3 separate regions of the Homo sapiens genome follow, and all the other regions are linked to region 3. Evidence: promoter capture Hi-C in human tissues and cell types (Jung and others, 2019). All regions are on one chromosome and are shown on one strand. Each heading gives the region's core, a stretch centred on a gene start or on the middle of the fragment in contact. The rest is flanking DNA. Distances are from core to core; before and after follow the strand shown.

Region 1 (3,792 bases), core at 541-3,040, 85 kb before region 3:
AGTGGGAGGATCACTTGAGCCCAGGAGTTCTAGAGCAGGCTGGGAAAAATAGTGAGGCACCATCTCTACTAATAAGAAAAAATTTCATTGGGCATGGTGGCACATGCCTGTAGTCCCAGCTACTTGGGAGGCTGAGGCGGGAGGATCGATTGAGCCCAGTATTTTGAGGCTGCAGTGAGCTGTGATTGCACCACTGAATTCCAGCTTGGGCAACAGAGAAGACCCTGTCTCAAAAACAGAAAATAAAAGAAGCTAGGAGAACATGTCATAAAAGTAAGACTAGCAGTAATTGGATTTAAGGCCTTTGTTTACAGTGAATATAATAGGTGTTTGTTGTGTTGTAGAATGAATGAGAAGCCTTTTCTTTTTTTTGAGATGGAGTCTCACTCTGCTGCCCAGGCTAGAGTGCAGTGGCATGATCTCAGCTCACTGCAACCTCTGCCTCCTGGGTTCAAGCAATTCTCCTTCCTCAGCCTTCCCAATAGCTGGGAATACAGGTGTGTGCCACCACACTCAGCTAATGTTTGTATTTTTTTTTTTTTTTTTTTGAGACGGAGTTTTGCTCTTGTTGCCCAGGCTGGAGTGCAAGGGCACGATCTCAGCTCACCGCAACCTCCGCCTCCCAGGTTCAAGCGATTCTCCTACTTCAGCCTCCCTAGTAGCTGGGATTATAGGCATGTGCCACCACGCCCGGCTAATTTTGTATTTTTAGTAGAGACGGTGTTTCTCCATGTTGGTCAGGCTGGTCTCAAACTCCTGACCTCAGGTGATCCACCCACCTCGGCCTCCCAAAGTGCTGGGATTACAGGCGTGAGCCACCGCGCCCGGCCATGTTTGTATTTTTAGTAGACACGGGGTTTCACCATATTGGTCAGGCTGGTCTTGAACTCCTGAGAGGTGATCCGCCTACCTCCGCCTCCCAAAGTGCTGGGATTACAGGCGTGAGCCACCATACCCGGCCAATGAGAAGCCTTTTGAGTTTCAACTCTCACACTCTAAAGTCTAGAGTTCAGTCTGTAGACATCATTGTATTCCTGGGGCTAGCCTGGAACCTGGCACATATTAAGAGCTCAAATATCTGTTGAATGAATGACTGAATGTATGAATAAATGCACAAGTGAATAAATAAATGATTGAATGAATGATGAATTATATGAAATAACAATTTATTTTTATTTTTATTTTTTGAGACGGAGTCTTGCTCTGTCGCCCAGGCTGGAGTGCAGTGACGCAATCTCAGCTCACTGCAGCCTCTGCCTCCTGGGTTCAAGCAATTCTCCTGCCTCAGCCTCCTGAGTAGCTGGAGTACGCGCAGCCACTCCCGGCTAATTTTTGTGTTTTTAGTAGAGACGGGGTTTCACCATGTTGGCCAGGATGGTCTTGATCTCCTGACCCTGTGATCCGCCTGCCTCGGCCTCCCAGAGTGCTGGGATTACAGGTGTGAGCCACCGTGCCCAGCTGAAATAACAAATTATTTAACAAGTCATTGAGTGAATGAATTAATTGATGGGACAGATGGATGAATTCTTTAAATCTCTGTAGAAAGAAGGTGAGTAGGGAAGAGAATAACTGAATAGCAGCACTATTTACTGAGCATTTCATTATTAGACCAGTGCTAAGAATTTCACAGTTTTTCCATTTAATCCTCACAGCAACCTCTCTGGGGTTGTTACCATCATTTTCTAAGAGAGCAATTAGATCTGGGGAGGCCAGGTAATTTACTCCATGTCCCACAGGGCAAAGCTGGAATACTGACCCTATCATACTCCAAAATTTAGACTTTTTACCACCCAATCAATGTCCTGTTCAACATAGGACTTGCTTTTAGTAGCTGATGCAAGTTCAGGTGAGCCACCACTTACACAACCCCTGGAAAGCTGTAAATTTAAACATAAACATTGTTAATTACTTCTTTAAAGCTTTTCTATTGCATGTCTCTTTATTTATTTATTTTGAGACAGAGTTTTGCTCTTGTTGCCCAGGCTGGAGTGCAATGGCACCTTCTTGGCTCACTGCAACCTTCGCTTCCTGGGTTCAAGTGATTCTCCTGCCTCAGCCTCCAGAGTAGCTGGGATTACAGGCGCCCAGCACCATGCCCAGCTAGTTTTTGTATTTTTAGTAGAGATGGGCTTTCACCATGTTGGCCAGGCTGGTCTCGAACTCCTGACCTCAGGTGATCCACATGCCTCGGCCTCTCAAAGTGCTGGGATTACAGGCGTGAGCCACCACACCTGGCCGCATGTCTTTTTGTAAGTGAAGGATTACCCCCAACTCCTCTGCTTCTGAAATCTGAATTTTGTTCAAAGCGAGGTATATATTAACTAAAGATGTCTACTTGTGGAAGCTGGTTTAGTTATTGCTGGGAAACTGGGATTTTGGTGTTTGAACACCTTAATAACCAGGCCCTTAATTTTGTGACATCTCATCTTGACAGTTTAAATAAAAGTAAATTAAAATTTACCAAATCCCAAACCCATTAAAGAAAAGACAGATACGTCAGTCCAGGAGTTTGAGATCAGCCTGGGTATGGTATGCTCCTGTTCCTCAGGAGGCAGAGGCGGAGGCAGAGGCAGAAGAATCCCTTGAACTCAGGAGTTCGAGGCTGCAATGAGCTGTGACTACACTACTGCATTCCAGCCTGGGTGACACAGCAAGACCCTGCTTCAGAAAAAAAAAAAAGACAAGACAGATTTGTACCATATCTGTTCGGACTGTGGTTCAAAGTCCAACTAGGAACCACAAATTCAGAAAAAATATTTCTAATTCCTGTCATCAACCAAGGACTGTCTTAATATATCCTACATTTATTTCTGAGGGCTTGTGCAAAATAAAACTATACATGTATGTGTATGTAAATATGTGTATATATGTATTCGTGTATATATGTATATGCGCACATACACGTGAATGTATATATGTGTATGTGTGTGCATATATGTGTACATATATATACACACATATACACACTGTACAAAGCTCTGACAAATCAATAAGAAAAAGGGCTATAATCCAATAGGAAAATGGGCAAAGGATATTCAAAGGAAAAAAACACAAATGGCTTTTTTTTTTTCCTTGAGACAGGGTCTCACTCTGTCACCCAGACTGGATTGCAGTGGTGTGATCACAGCTCACTACAACCTTGAACTCCTCAGCCTCCCAAGTAGTTGGGACTACAGGCGCATGACACCACACAGGGCTAACTTTTTCTTTTTTACTTTTGTGGAGACAAGGTCTCACTGTGTTGCTCAAGCTGGTGTTGAACTCCTGGGCTCAAGTCCTCCTGCCTTGACCTCCCAAAGTTCTAGGATTACAGGTGTGAGCCACCACGCCAGTCTAAAAGGCTCTTACATATATGAAAAATGCTCTTTCATCATAATTTAAAAATGTAAATTAAAACTATACTGAGAAAAACAAAAAAACTATACTGAGGGAATAATTTTTCACCTATTAGATTGACAAAGATTATAAAACACTTTTTCTGATAACACATTATACTGGCAGGGTGGAGAAATTGTACTCTCATACTGTTTTCGGGAAAGTAAATTGATACAACTTTTTTTTTTTGAGACAGAGTCTTGCTCTGTGGCCAGGCTGGAGTGCAGTGCTGCGACCTTGGCTAACTGCAAACTCTACCTTCCAGGTTCAAGCGATTCTCCTGCCTCAATCTCCTGAGTAGCTGGGATTACAGGCACATGCCACCATACCCAGCTGATTTTTGTAGTTTTAGTAGAGACAGGGTTTCACCATGTTGGCCAGGCTGGTCTCAAACTCCTGACCTTGGTGATCCATCCG
Region 2 (3,821 bases), core at 724-3,223, 77 kb after region 3:
TGACTGGAGGCCATTTCCAGGTAGTTGCCACACTGACCCCTGACTGCTACTCCTTGGCAGTGCAGTGGGGGGGCCCTGCCTCAGCCACATATCCCGGGGAGCAGTGGCAGCGGTAGGAGCCCTCTGTGTTCTCGCAGTAACCATGGACACAGAGCACAGCAGGCCCGTTCAAGTCATCACACTCATTCACATCTAAGAGGAAACAAAGGAGAGTGCTGTAGGGAGCCCAGGTGCCTCTGCTGGCTGCCTCCACCTCTCTGGTTAGTAAGCCCTGGCCACTGCCCTAGAGTGAAACCCTAAGTGTGACAGCCAGAGGCTGAAGTCACTTCCCAAAACCAAGCAACTCAAGGACAAAGCAGGGGGCAGCAAGCTCATACCATGCCCAAGACCGTGCTCTCTTGTCCTTGTCTTTTGTCTGGGAACCTGCACGGAAGGGGCTTTCTAAAGCACATAATTAAACCTTCCTTTGGCGCTTTCTTCCCTTCCAGCCTGATGCAGACAGCCCCACTAGGAGGCAGCAGTGGCTCTTCCAGCCTTCCTGAGTTCAGGCGTCTCTGTGGGCAGTGGGCCAGCCTGACTCCTCCATCAGAATTCTGCACTTACCTACGCAGGCCATGTGGGCCGCATCCAGCTGGAAGCCCTCAAAACAGTCACAGGTGTAGCCCTCCCGCACGCGCACACAGCGGCCATTCTCACAGCCGTTCAGGATGCCGCACTCCTCCGCCTGAAGCCCTTCGAAGCCGGCTGGGGGCTCTGGGAGGAGGAAATCGGAGAGAGGAGGAGGCTGAGGGCTGTGTCCAGACTCTCCCTAATGCTGGGACCCTCGCCCTTCTGGACAAAGGGTGCCCCTGTGGAACTGTGGGGGTGGGGGCAGAGAGGATCATAAAATTCTTGTGGAAAGATGCTAGAACAAAAGGCAGTACTCTTGAAAAAAAAAGTATGTGTCATTTTAGATGGGGAGAGGTGCTCTGGGCTTCAAATGAGGGCTCCAGGGAGGCTGAGACTCGCTGCTTCCACAATGCCCGGCTCCTGCTGGGGTTTGGGTGGTCGAGGAGTGTGTTGCTACATAGTTTTTGGGTTTGGGCGTGGGGAAGGGGTGAGGTGTTTTGTTTAAACCTTCACATCGTGTTTTTGGGAAGTGGGGAACAATTGGTAGCAGAGGGGCCTCACTCAACACAAAGCAAAACATTGACCAGATCTACCTAACCCTCTTCACTCCCTAAGCACCCCTCCACCCCATGGAAAAGGCCACACCCTACCCAGAGGTATGGTTTTAGTCTGATGTGGTAGCTTTGCCTGTGGTGGGTACCGTGTGCATGGCACAGTGCTAGGCTTGACTTCCTCATTAGACTCCAAGGCCTGAGTGTTTGGATCGCACCATTCACAAACCGAGTCATCACGGTGGGCCTTTAAAGTCCTTAGAAAACCTTAATCCACACTTCAGGTCACAAGTGTGAATGCTGGGTGTCCTTAGAGCAGGTTATTCTGCAGCCTGTAGGTGGCGTGGAGGGAGAAAAAGACTGCAGTGAACAGCTTTCTCTCTCTCTCTCAGTCCCCACAGGAAGCTTGTAGGTTGGGACAGGGGCAGTGTCCTGTACCTTTTTGTGTCCCTGTGATAGTTTATGACGGAGTTGTTAGGGTCGGACCTGGGCGTATGTACTTGTCTCAAGCGAGCCGTGAACGGGGACCTCTGGCTTGGTGTGTCTTTCCCCTTCCCAGTCCTCACCCTGCTGGCAATATGACTAGCAGGTGGAGGAGATGGAAGTGAAACAGCTTTGGTGCCCACCTCTTCCCCAGTTTTGCAGCAACACAGACCTGGATGGCTGGCCACGTAGTGGGGCTGGAGTTCTGAGGGCTGCAAAGGAGACTCAAGGATGGGTGTGCGGTCCGCTGAGTGACCGGCTGTGTTGGGGAAGGCAGGCTCAGGGACGGTGTCCTCGGGGCCCAGGTAGTTGTAGAAGGGGGCCCCATCTGGGCCATAGATGCTGTAGTGCAGGTCATCGGGCCCGGGGCCATACTCATAGCCTGGCCGGAAGTGGACCCCGGCCTCCCGCTCTGCCTCAATGCGAGCCACGTTGCACAGCTGAGCATAGACCTCTGTCAGGGAGGAGGGAGAGAAGGAGCTGGGTTCTAGCTCCTGCCAGCTAAAGCCTGGCTGGCTTTGTCTCTGGGAGCATGCAAGGACTGGTACCCTCTGGGAGATCCTGGCAACATTCCTCTCCCCACCTCTCCCCTGCCCTACTTTGTCCCCAAACAGCAGGGATGGAAGACAGGGCCTTTGCTCTGCTCCTTCTTTCTAGATCCCCAGTTCCAAGGTGAGGGCATCCCCCTCCCTGGGGCCTGGCCCAGCCCTGCAGGGTATCCCCTTTGCTCCCCCTCACCAGAGCTCCTCGGGGGACACAGAGCACACTGCTGGCTCCAGGCCTCGCCGTCCTGGCAGCAGCATTCCGTGTAGGTGGTGCGGTGCCCACGCAGGGGTTCGCTGCACACATCATTGGTGACTTTTTTCCAGCAGATGTCCATGTGGATGTCGTGGTCAGGGAGGTCCTCTGGTGGCACAGGGCACGGAGGCACATGAGCCCCCCAGCCCAGGTACCCTTCTCCTGCTCCCCCACGCTCAGGCCCACTCACCCGTGCTGCTGGTGCTGTTCATGCAGCGCTGCTGGCTGAGGTCCAGGGTGAGCGGGGGGCTGCAGAAGCAGTGGAAGGAGCCCTCCGTGTTGACGCACTCGCCATTCTCACAGGCCAGGTCCTGGCACTCATCGTGATCTGGGGAGGCAGGAAAGGGTGGGGCATTGCCAAGGTGGCCTTTCCACCAACCACCCTCAGGGAAGGGTGTTTGCCTATCACTGATAATGAAGAGTTAGTGCCCTGCCTCCCTCCCCTCAACCCAGCCCAGCCTGGAAGGCCCTCCTGGGGACAATCTCTGACAGCCCACAGCTCCTTCACCTGGGACCAGCCTGCTGCAGTGGGCGGCCTCCCTAGGAAGGGGGACTCTCAGCAATAATGGGACTGGCTGGCAGGGGCTGGGTGGGCCATTATTCAGCTGTGGGCCTGGGGTGGGGGCAGGGATCATGTGTGTCCTTACCCTCACACTTCTTGTGGGAAGCATCGTAGTGGAAGCCGGGATTGCACAGGCAGACATAACCAGGCACGGTGTTGAGGCACCGGCCGTTCGGGCAGAGACCAGGCCCGAATATCACACACTCATCCGCATCTGTGGAAGGCAGAGCTGAGGTGAGAGGAAGGTGAGAGGCAGTATGAGGGGTACCTAGAGCAGGGAATCCAAAGCCAGGCTGGGTTTGAATCCCAGCTCTGCCACTTACTAGGTGGCTTTGGGCAAGTTGCTTAAGTTCGCCTTGCCTCCGGTTCCTACATACTCTTAGAGTTGTTGTAAGGATGAAAAGGTGTTAATATGTGTGAGGTGCTCAAAAAAGTGCACGGCGTGTAGCCAGCACCCAAGAAAAGCAATCTCTGTCTCCATCATTTCCTTCTCAAGACTAGCTTCAGGACTAGGGTGCTGAGGGGCGCAGTACCTGGACCATCCTACTGTGAGTGTGTGTTCCCCAGAGTTTCTGGCCTCATCAGTGCGGCCAGGGAGATGAGCGCAGCCTCTGGCCTCTAGAGCAGTGCTCTCCACTCTGTCCCTGTGCCCACATGTGGCTGTGGGTGAGAGTTAGTCAAGGCATCATAGTTTGTTTCTGGAGGTGCAGCTTGGGAGAGCAGGGAAACTGAGGTGAGGCTCATGTGGACACTCCAAGAGCAGCTTGAGTCAGAACTTCCAGCTAACACTCTGCAGGGAGTCAGCCCTGGGACAGAAA
Region 3 (3,370 bases), core at 230-2,729:
TGACAGCAGGCCTGGCTAGGGGTTGGGAACAGTGACAGCAGCGCACACTGGTATGGAGATGTACAGGTGGCAAGCCTCCAATCAGGTGCATTGTTTTTCATTGGGCCCCAAGGCAGTTCCCTGAGGTGAGCAGAGCGGTGACCTTATCCCCACTCCAGGGGTGAGGAGGATGAGGTTGAAAGAGCTTAGGGAACTAGCTAAAGCCAGTAAATGCCAGCACCCAGCCAGGAACTCCTACTCTAGTGCTCTTTCTACCCCTGGGGGTAGGGAAGTTGTGTTGGGTTGGAGGGTGGGGATAAAGCAGTAGAAAGAAGTGGTCAGCCACAAGGGTAGGCCAATTCTTCCTCCACGCAGTTTTATTTTGATCGCTACATTCTGCCAGTCATAGAGAACTCTGCTCTGAAGAACTAGAAGCACTTTGCAGGCCTGAATGAGCTCATTCAGCGCACTCTTGCCAGAAAGAGAGAGAACTCCTAATGGAGGCTCTGTCTAGGGTCACCAGCACATAATAGAAAACAGGACCCAGGTTCCCTGACTCTTTGCCCTCATGCGCCAAGAGATGTGATGCAAATCCTGCCTGCTTCTGTGAGCGTCAAGAGTGTCATAGGAAAAAAAATTGAGGTATCTTCCAGGACCTCCTTCCTTCCCTGAAGAAATGGGTTAATCCATCCTAAGGGGCCTTGGCCCAAGAGCCAATCCCTTGGCCCAAGAGCCATTTCCAGGGCAGAGAAATCTCAGAGCAGGGGGTACCACAGCCACCTCAGTCACCTGGGTGAACAGGTTTGGGTGCGAGAAGAGGGGAGCTTAGTGAAGCCTGCTCAGATTTTGCTAGTGTCGCAAAACCTTGGTGGGGACTGGGGTACCAGGGAGTCTGAGGCTCTAATCAGTATTTCTTGCCGTCAGTAGGCAGGATGTCTAGGAGCTGCCTGAGGTCAGGGTCAAGGCCTGATGTTGTGAGGTTATGGTGTCTTGACCCCAGTTCATCAGCCCCCTCCCAGCACCCCCAGCCTGCAGGATGAGGGGTAGGGAGGGACGAAGTGCAAGCCTTGGCGGAGCGCAAGGTGCGGCCAAGCAGGGAGTCAGAGCCCCTAGCCCCGAGAGGGCTCCCGTGCCCTCCCCAGCTCACTCCCCGCTCCGTGCCTAGCTCTGCGCTCCCGCGGCGCCCCCAGACCGCCCCTTACCTGTCCCGCCGCGGACGGTCCCGCCTCCTCCGCGGGGCTCGGGGGCTCGGCATGGGCCGGTGAGCGACGGCGCCCCCGCCTCGCGGTCGCGGTGGAACTCCCAGGAGGGCTCCCCTGCTCTCGTCCCCGCGTCCCTGAGCAGCCGCCGCTTCAGCACCGCGGACAGCTCCCGCCCGCAGCCCGCCGCCGCCGCCCGCCCCGCCCCGCGCGGTCCCGGGAGCCCCGCATCCTGGCCGGGCCCCGCCGCCGCCGCCGCCGCGCAGCCCTCGGCCCGGCCCGAGGCGGCTCCGCGCCGACTTGGGAGAGCAGCGAGGAGGGTCCCCCTCCTTCCCGCCTCCCGCCGCCGCCGCCTCCCTCTCGCTTCCGTGCTCCGTGCTCCCTTCCACGCTCCGGAATCAGCCCACCAGGCACTCCGGACCCGGCTCCGGGGCGGGGCGGGGCGGGAAGTCGGGGGAGCCCGGAGGAGGCGGCGAAGCGAGGGGCGCGCAGCTGGAACCCGCGTACCCGCTTCCTGGAGCCGAGCCCTCTTTCCCAGCCCTTCTCTCCCCTCCTCCCGCGCACCCCAGAGCGATGGGAGGCCCTTGGGCTTCTTGAAGCATTTTGGAGCTCCTAGGCTCCAAAGCCAGCCCTGAGTTTTTAACATTGATCTGCCCTAAAAAGAAAAACAAACAGAAAGCATTTATTGAGCACCTACTATATACCAGATACCAAGCCCGATAATGTGTTTAATCAACATAAGCTCATTTAATTTTCTTAACAACTCTATTAGGCAATATAGTGCCCCTCTTCCCCTCTTCCCCTCCCCCTGCCCCCCTCCCCCTGTCCCCCTTCCCCCTCCAATTTTGCAGACCAGGACGCTGGGCTCACAAGGATGAAATCCTGTGATTTGGAGATTCAGTGCTGTGCTGGGAAGGGCACAGGTTTTAAAGCTCATGGACCTAAGTTTTGGTCCTAGGGTCCCACTTGCTGTATAACCTCGAGCAAGTTACCTAACCTCTTAAAGCCTCAGGTTCCTCATGGACAAAGTGAGGGGTCATATGAGGACAAAATGAGATGACATACGTGACACATTGGCACTCAATAGGCACTCAGTGAGTGAGCGTCCCCCTGAGTTTTCCCAGCAAGAGCCCTGAGATCCGAATGCAGGCCTTTTGGCTGCTTTGTCTCCACCCTGTGCTGCTCTTTATCCACCTCCACCTGCGTTTCCTTTTTTTTTTTTTTTTTTGCATGGGGATGCCCTATCTTGAGTGTTACCAGTGGATGAACCTATTCTTCGAGCGCCTTCACAAGGTCTTGAGTCTCACCAAAGTCCCAGGAGGTCAGGAGGAGAGAGTATTCTCATTTTCTGAAGGTAAGTGTGGGTTTGCAAAGTAAACCACAGAGCAGGCTGCAGCTGGGGCTGGAAGACACAAGGAACCAGGGTCTGGCAGTGGGATTCCACTAGCATCCACTAGTCTCCTAGCATCCAGCTGAGGATGCTATAGCACATAGCATGGTGGACTCCAGGACTCCTTCACTCCCACAGGATGTGGGCATCTGGCACAGTTCGGTGTAGCTCCTAGAGTGCACAGTAGGAGCCAGGAGCAAGTCCACATCATGGGGCTTGGGTCTCCTTCCCTTCAAGGCAGGACAGAGAACTCCCTTATCCTGGGGTCTGTCTCAGGGCTGGTATTGGTGTTTAACTTGTTGGGTGCTAAATATATTATTGCTCTTCCTGTCTCTGCCCCATTAGTGGATAATGCAGTGAGAAGCCCCCTGAGGCCAGCAAGGGTCTTGGACCACTCATCTCAGGCCCATACTTCATCTTCACAGACACCCTCCTCCTCAAAACACAGACATACAGACACACACACAACACAGACACACATAGACACACACAGACACACACACAAGACATTGTCTCTGATGTCAGGCCACCCTCCTGTACCTTTGCTTTCTCTGGCCTTCCTCTCACAGGGGCTCATGGCCACCTACTTGGCCTTGGCCTCCCTCTGCTGCTCCCCTCCCCACCCTGGCTGTGCTCCATGCCTGGGCTGCATACTGAAATACTAATTGAAAGGATAATAAAAAAGCCAGTGAAGCAAAAGCCGCATATAAATTCTAAATACTAATGTTGATAATTACATGCTGCTGCCTGGAGGGAAAACTCAAAGAGAGGCTGTTGGTGTTGTATCAAGGGCCCTGGCCTG

The links. Contacts are between HindIII fragments. The study calls those that stand out against the background at their distance.
Region 1: a fragment that was not itself captured here is called in contact with the fragment with the promoter of SYNDIG1L in region 3 in 4 of the 25 tissues and cell types used here (liver, mesendoderm cells, spleen and 1 more).
Region 2: a fragment that was not itself captured here is called in contact with the fragment with the promoter of SYNDIG1L in region 3 in 2 of the 25 tissues and cell types used here (lymphoblastoid cells and small bowel).

What each region holds. Positions count from the first base shown.
Region 1 is chr14:74,339,582-74,343,373 of GRCh38, forward strand. It overlaps a transcript of VRTN not described here. Among named protein-coding and RNA genes, the nearest start is that of VRTN, 7.0 kb to the right of the region's middle. The HindIII fragment of the contact is 9,025 bases long and covers 1-3,792 here.
Region 2 is chr14:74,500,838-74,504,658 of GRCh38, forward strand. LTBP2 (latent transforming growth factor beta binding protein 2) reads right to left here. Exons shown (of 36, transcript NM_000428.3): 31 at 3,089-3,217; 32 at 2,632-2,769; 33 at 2,382-2,549; 34 at 1,816-2,097; 35 at 604-753; 36 at 1-192. The coding sequence ends at 47. Among named protein-coding and RNA genes, the nearest start is that of ISCA2, 9.0 kb to the left of the region's middle. RefSeq lists enhancers at 1-262, 1,672-2,366 and a silencer at 1-243. The HindIII fragment of the contact is 5,883 bases long and covers 1-3,821 here.
Region 3 is chr14:74,424,731-74,428,100 of GRCh38, forward strand. It overlaps SYNDIG1L (synapse differentiation inducing 1 like), which reads right to left and starts at 1,480. Exons shown (of 4, transcript NM_001105579.2): 1 at 1,182-1,480. The HindIII fragment of the contact is 14,133 bases long and covers 1-3,370 here.